Linked DNA regions of Homo sapiens: region 1 is linked to region 2. Evidence: promoter capture Hi-C in human tissues and cell types (Jung and others, 2019). All regions are on one chromosome and are shown on one strand. The core of a region is centred on a gene start or on the middle of the fragment in contact, and the rest is flanking DNA. Distances in the headings are between cores, read along the strand shown.

Region 1 (3,683 bases), core at 999-3,498, 140 kb before region 2:
AGAAATTGAAGAACAAGTTGCTGCAAAGGTCCTGGCAATGCAATTCTCTTTCACTGACAACAGGAAGAAAAGAAAGTTTGAATGTGGAAAGAGTCGTGAATCAATCAAAGAGTGGAGAGAGAAAAGCTGGAAATGTGGGTAAGAACCAGGTCATACAGGCTGTTGAAGGTCTTATGAGCAGCTTAGATTGTATTCTGAGATTAGATAGCTCTGGGGTTTTAAACTGAAGCGTGATTTAATTGTACTATTGTATGTGTATTTTGGATTCATAAACATGAACATGATATAAACAAAAAATGATGAATTGATGATGAAATGCATTGCTTAGTTATATTGCTTAATAATTCCCAAACTAAGCTTGTTCATAACTAGAAACATTTTACTTTCTGAACATTGAAGAATAAACATTTGGTCTTGTGGTTTCATCATATTTTAACAGTTGCTTATAAGGGAACACACATCAGACCACACGGCACTAATGTCCATGTAGTAATATGTATTTTCTTGTGTCTCAAAGATAATACCTAAAATCTAAAAATGTGTGCTTTCCCTTCCAGAAGGTGGAGGCCTTGGCCCAGCCCATGTTGAATCCAGGTAAAGCCATGTGACAAGTACTCACAAGAGAACATGAATGGAAGTGATGTTTGTTTCTTTTGGGTTAGGGCCTTAAAGATGCTGACAAGTTTCCTCCACTCTCTTTTTCCCCTTCTTCCACTGGAAAGGGAAGGCCAATCAATTTTGTATTTGTTAAGCAGTACAAGTATTTACAGGCCATTTTCCAATTATCCAATGATTGGCTATGTTTGAGAAATTATTTTACGTGGTTTTGGAAGCAGATTTTTCTTTTGAAAGACAGCTATTCTTAGTAGAAAGTCATGGGCCAATTTACTTGTCCTAAAATTATACTGAAATACTGAATATATCTAGTGGAAAAGATAAGGAATACAACATTAATACATAGATGGTATGCAGCTACTCAAACCAGAGGGGACAGGGAAGCTACAAAATGGAATGACTCAGTTCCCTAAATTGCTGGCTAGAAGAATGCAGCTGGGCAAACTGAAGCACCCTCTTTACAGGTCCTTTTCTTCCATGAAGTTCTATTCAATTCCTTCAATTGCTGGATAGAAGAACACAGCCCGGTGTACAGAAACGCCCTCTTTACAGGTCCTTTTCTTCCATGAAGTTCTGTTCGGTTCCTGCCAGAAAACTACTGCCCTCAATGTGCCATGCTCAAGACTACCCTCCTCTGTCAAACCTGACTCCTGCTTTCTATCTTTCCCCACAGAGAACCCATTGCCTCCCTTTACTGCCTGGAGAATTGGGACTGGGGGATTGGAGATGGGGGAGAATGAAAATTGTAGTGATCATTTTCTCTGAGGGATTTTTCCCCCACACACTCAGTTCTTACTTATTAAACGGCTTTTGTATGTCTTAGGAATAAAAAGCCATTCTTCCTGGGTGTCTTCTTCCTGCTAGCAATGGAGCTCTACCTGGTCTCGTCAGCAATCACGTCATTAAATCTGACTGGCAACTTGCAGAGGATGGTGGGGCCGAGAGACAACAGGTCAAGTTTTCGAGGGTATGTCCTCTGAAACTCAGGCAGGAGTTCAGGTAGTAAGAATTTGAAAGCTATCAAAAACAGAAGTGGGCATTCTCCTTCTTGCTGAATGAGCTACTCATTCAGGAAAGCCAGTGTTGAGTCAGAGATTTAATAAAGACATGCAACAAGTAGCTGAAACTTTAGGAAGATAACAAAGCCACTTCCTGAAGAAACCAAGCATTGGCAACAAACTGAGCAGGTGGAGGGAAACTGTCCAGATCTCATAAAGATGCTGGCAGTGTAGATTAGGTTACAGCTTCCATTTTTAAAAGATTTCTCAGATTTCTGTCATATTCTCACTGAACGGTTTCTATCCTAATCTCAAAGGGCCTAACATGTTCAAAGAAAAAGAGATCAGGAAGGAGCAAGGAGGACATTAAAAGGGCATTGGGCAGCGACAATATCTCACCAGGGATTAATAATACCAGGTGTAGGGTATTAATCCCTGCCACCAGGTTTAATATTAGATTTCACATAGTGTCTGGCACCTAATAGCTGCTGAAAGCATGAGTGTTGTGTGAGTGTATAAATGGGTGAGTGGGTGACGATTGAATGAATTAGTAAATCAAAGTATAAATATTTAGCTTCCTGGTTATGAATTTTAGGCAGAAAAGTGAAGATGGAAGTATCCAGATTCATCTGATGATCCTCACTCAAAGACTTGTCTTCCTGCACCATCCTCCTCCGTTTAAGAGTGATTATTTGAGGAGCACCTTGTGATGTTGAAAAATAAGAGTTGAACACTGACAAGCTAAAGATTACTGGAGATTAAGGAAAGTGCGTGGAGTAAGATTTCAAGTCACCTGGAGCCAAGGATATAGTGAACCAATTGAGTACTAAGACATACAGCAAGAAAAAAAAATCTAATTTTATCTTCAAGGAGATGAAAGAAAGAAGAAGGAAGTTTTGGGACAAAAACAATCAAATACTAGATTTGATGTTAAATAAAAATCTCTTTGTAATTCAATGCCTACCCCACACTCACATTCTCAACCCTACTTTTTTCGTTACCATCAATGCATCATTACTGTATTCCTTTTTCTCCACGAGAAATACTCAATATTTCAACACAATTGTGTGATAAATAAATTGGCCTATGACTTCTTATTAAGAAGAGCTGTGTTTCAAAGAGAACTATGTTCCCACAATCACTTAATCTCTTGGAGCATAGCAAATCACCACATAATTGAAATATGGCTGTAAAGACTTGTGTTTGCTTAATAAACACAAAATTGATTGGCCTAAATGGATTTTCTACTTATTTTAGGGAAAAACAACAAAAGACAAAAAGTGAATATTTTAAAAAGAAAGAACTATGTACAATTTTTGAAAATGTATGGAAAACCAGAGTATTTTACAGATATTTTTACTGCTTTTGCTAATATCAAATTTAAAGGGATATTGGAAACACATATAAGCAATTTAACTGATTTATGTTAAGTACAACGGTGTTCTTAAAGTATGTTTTTAATTTACTTAATTGTCTCGCCTAAATCTAGATCTTGTCCAGGTCAGTTCTTTTAGAAGACCTCTGGAGGGCAATGTCTCATTTAAATTATAACTGAAGGCACTCTAAGGTTTTATTGGCAGTGTACCTTAGCAAGTGAATCCTATTGAATTAAAGCGCCAGATAAGTAACCACTGCGTATATAACTTGGCTTTTAGCAGACTGAAAAAAAAAATATATACCTAACCAGCAAAGTCAGAATGAAATGCTTCCTTTGAGCCTACATTGAACCCCTTTGATGGTTTACACACCTTCAACAAATTCTCAAAGTCATTGGTTTAACCACTCTTGGACGCACCCGGCTGAGTTGGATGAAAACTTCAGTTTTGTGTTCTTTTCACTTGAAAGCTGTATGTCTATTCTCAGCATCATGCATGTTATTTTTTTTTTTCCATTCTTAACAGTATTCCTCATTTACAAAACAAAAACGATAATAATCAGAAATAGTCCTATAAAAATGTTAATTTTGTTTAGCCATTGACTGATCTTTCTCTAACCTTAACACTTTGTGATTATTGACTTTTGTTGCATTTAACACTCCCCAATTATCTAGCCATTTCGAATATCAACATT
Region 2 (3,783 bases), core at 386-2,885:
GGAAAAAAATAGTAGTTAGAACCTTGTGCATCTTTGAGTTATCACCTACCCAATATTATCAAAAAGTACTACAAGATAGCCCTTGTGATATACAGGGATGGAGAATAACAGTGAACAATGAAAACTACTTACAATTTCAGAGAAGAACAGGATAGATCTTAGGGCCAACAAGTTTAAGATGTCTTTTACCTCTTTATATGTTACTCATTTTATCACATCCAACTGGAATTATTCTTGCACTTCCTATTATTGAAAGCTTCTAGAAATTTGCAAGAAGCAGATAGACCTAATAATTAATCTGATCATCAGTCCCCCCCCAAAAAAATGCTTGAGTCATAAATAGCAGCGAAATCCATTGATTGTAAATAAAGTAGAAGGGAGACATGACTGAGCCATTTCCACCAAGCAAGATAATTAAAGTCAGAGATGCTGTTTCCTGCTTCCCTGGTATAAACAATGAAGCTGCTCTACTGGCCTCTCCACAGCCTGGATGTCCCAAAACCACCTCCCTCTTCTTTCCTTCCACATTCTCTAAAGAGGATTCTGGGTCATAAAGGAAGGAAAATTGGTGTAACTTTTTTCCTGAAACGACTTCAGCTTCCTCTGTGTTTGTATTTGTGATATCTTATTATAAGACGAGCTAACATCTATTATTAATTGATGCACTAATTAAAGCCATACTTGCAGTTTCCATTAGCTTATTCCCTAAATTCTCCAGAGTTGCCTGTCTGGTTTTAATCAAAACCAAATGGTAGTCCAAATTCCCAACCTGGAGCAGCTAGGAGGAAGTCATTCAAGGGAGGCACAAGAAAGCAGAAAAGATAAACAGATGATAGTTCACAAAATTTGTGACGGACGAAGGATGCAGATACCATGAGCGGCTTTAGAGATGTGATTCAGGAACGCTGCCATGCTAGATGGAAGCAGTTGTAAGTGTTTAATGTCAGCAAGACTCTAATACGATCAAGATGGAGCCTGTCTTCTGCTCCAGCACTGGATTTTTGTAACTGGAGGATTCTGACTAGAGGTAATGCGCTGCTGCATTTGCCATAACACGAACTATTTTAATTCTGTGAAGGATTCTTGTGATCAGAGAGATCTGGAAGAAATCGTTCTATTAACTGGATGCTTGGGATTTTACTTACAGATGGTCTCAGGGACAGAATGAAAAGCTGCAGCATTTCCAATTTTAAGTCATGTTCAAAAAAGGTTTTGCCATTTAGAAGAATTATGGTATTAAGGCTAAATTCATCTTGCTCTCTTAAAAGATCTTTTGAAATGAGAGCAAGCACAGGCATTTTGATTAAGCTGTGCATATACATTTAATATAGTGGAAAGGTTGTGGATAGAGAGAAAACTACGTTTTCTTTCTTTCTTTCTTTCTTTTTTCATAAGCAGTGTGGGATAGAAAAAGCTCTAGGACTTTATGACTCTACAGCTAATCACCTCAAGAGCTTTGACAAAACTCACTTGAGTTCTGTGTAAAATCAGAACTCCTAAAACGCCCAGGCGGCTGGGCTCTCCCCTCCTCCCCTCTCTTCGTACAGCCTTTCTAGCATGCACACTCCTCAGAGGCAGGAAATACTTTCCAGGCAATCTGGGCCTGGTTGTGGAGGCCCCTTTTGCAAAACCTCAGTCTGAATTTAGTAGACAGAAGTCACTAGGAATGCCTTGACAGGATCCTGCCTTAGCTAAGGCTCCCTCCAGCTGCAGAGGGTGTTTTTGTTAGACTCACACACTGCGTGAAACTGCTCAGAATAGAGCCATGATCTCAACCACGAAATGGGAACTTAGATTTTGGAGAAACTAACGGGGACGGACTTCTTTCCTAGCCTGAGTGTTGAGCAGTGTCATGCCTTGGCGTTTCAGCTCCTCGTTGTCTAGGTAAGACGCTATGGACTATCTTTATGCTTTGAGGCGGTCTTTGAAGAGGCAGAAAGATTGAGATAAATGTTAGCATCTTGCACGGAGTTGGTGACTTCCTAGGTTTTAGAGCAAAGCCATAAAATCAGAAGTGGAAAATGTTTGATAAGTAGAAAATTCTGAGTCAATTCGTTTTAGCAAACTGTCAGTTCTAAAACAGGCTCCATATAGATTTAACTCTTTTCCTCCATAAAGTAAGATTTTATTTTTATCCCTTTTTACGTTTAACTTATTTATTAATTGAGCTGTCGGATCAGTTTTCCTATTTCTTGGCATAACGTGAAACAAATACATTTTCTCACACATCAGTGTGAGGTGTAAATGAATTCCTCCCCTACCTTCCTTTGCCAACAGGGAGAGTAGAAAGCACCCGAGTGACTTGTGCTTAATAATCAGTCTCCAAAGAGTATTTTGTGTCTCATTTAAAACTACGAAGATTGAATTTCTTATTATTTTACCCAAGCCAGTTTCAATCATATGTCAAGCTTCTCCTGTACAGCTTAAAAGGTTCATTTAAAAAAAAAAAGTAAACACGTGAAATTTCAGGAATTATTTCTGTCCTAAATAGTATTTAATCTGAGTTTTGGAAATTTAAATGTCGGAATCGAATTTAGTTTATATTAATTTTCCTGGATTCACTGCTTGCTCCGGTCACATTTTGTGTAATATTTTGAATAACTGAAGTCAATCTCAATGACACTGACACTCATTATAACTCTTTTAAGGCAGCCAGAAATCACTCCAGTCATATGGAAACTGTTTGTGTCCTTACTTATGTAATCGTAAAATTACATTTCCACCTGACTGTAGTCTCTTCAAGGTAATCTTAAATGTTTAAATGTACAATATATTAGAAAAGAAGTTTAGTAATGACCGAAAAAGTGTGGACTTATAATGCATAAGATACTGTTATATTTCTGAATATTTATAATAAAATTCATCATTTTATAGAAATAAAATGGTACATAAAGGGAAGAAATATTCATGTACATTTTCAAATCTATTAGATGAATACAAAATATACTAAGTGAAAGATGGAGAGCTATTTTGACAGTTGGATCATAAGAAATGAAGTAACTGTTTTCATTATAAGTTTTTATATAGTACAAGGTGACCATCTGCTATATTAGCTATTCTCAAATTTTATGCTAGAATAACTTATATTGATAAATTTTAACTATTCACTGACAATTTGTGTTAAAACTTCTTAAATATGAGAAAAAGAATCTACTTTTTATATATGTGGAAGATAAAATACTGACTTATCTAAATTATGATTTAATTAAAATCTCCAAATGGAATTTCAGAGAAGGAAAGAACATAAGAGATGGTCTCCTCTAACAATGGCTTGAGGTTGTCTACAAGAAGCTGAGAAATGGGATTTAAAAGTGACCTGTCCAAGGTCACACCTCTAGCTAATAGAAGAGAGGACAGCAGAACCACAGTGCCCTGATTCATAATTCAGATACCTTTTTATCCCATCATCCTGCCCTCCCATAATAATTATGCATAATGAAGTATGAACATGTCCAGTAGAAGGGTGCTTTGCAGACAGAAATTTGCAGTTCCTCTAATTTAAAAAAAAAAAAAAAAAAAGGTAAAACTGTCACCAATGTTAATTATGTGGGGAAAAAAATCCTAACTTTAAAAAAAAATCAAATCAGTATGCCTTCAATAAACACTTTACAGTAGTAACTTGCTTTATGACTATTTTATTATATTTGATGTTTATGTCAAGAAAATCAATCCATATGCTAATAATTATATTAATTTTAATCTGATGTTTCTTTAAAAATAGGGCTAGAAAACAGCTTTTCTAATTTATATCCTTGTACTCAAATGATCATAATGAAACTGTCC

Evidence for each region. Contacts are between HindIII fragments. The study calls those that stand out against the background at their distance.
Region 1: a fragment that was not itself captured here is called in contact with the fragment with the promoter of DLC1 in region 2 in 1 of the 25 tissues and cell types used here (bladder).

The regions. Positions count from the first base shown.
Region 1 is chr8:13,654,711-13,658,393 of GRCh38, reverse strand. No RefSeq gene overlaps it. Among named protein-coding and RNA genes, the nearest start is that of C8orf48, 90 kb to the right of the region's middle. The HindIII fragment of the contact is 6,310 bases long and covers 1-3,683 here.
Region 2 is chr8:13,512,703-13,516,485 of GRCh38, reverse strand. It overlaps DLC1 (DLC1 Rho GTPase activating protein), which reads left to right and starts at 1,635. Exons shown (of 18, transcript NM_182643.3): 1 at 1,635-1,884. The HindIII fragment of the contact is 7,641 bases long and covers 1-3,783 here.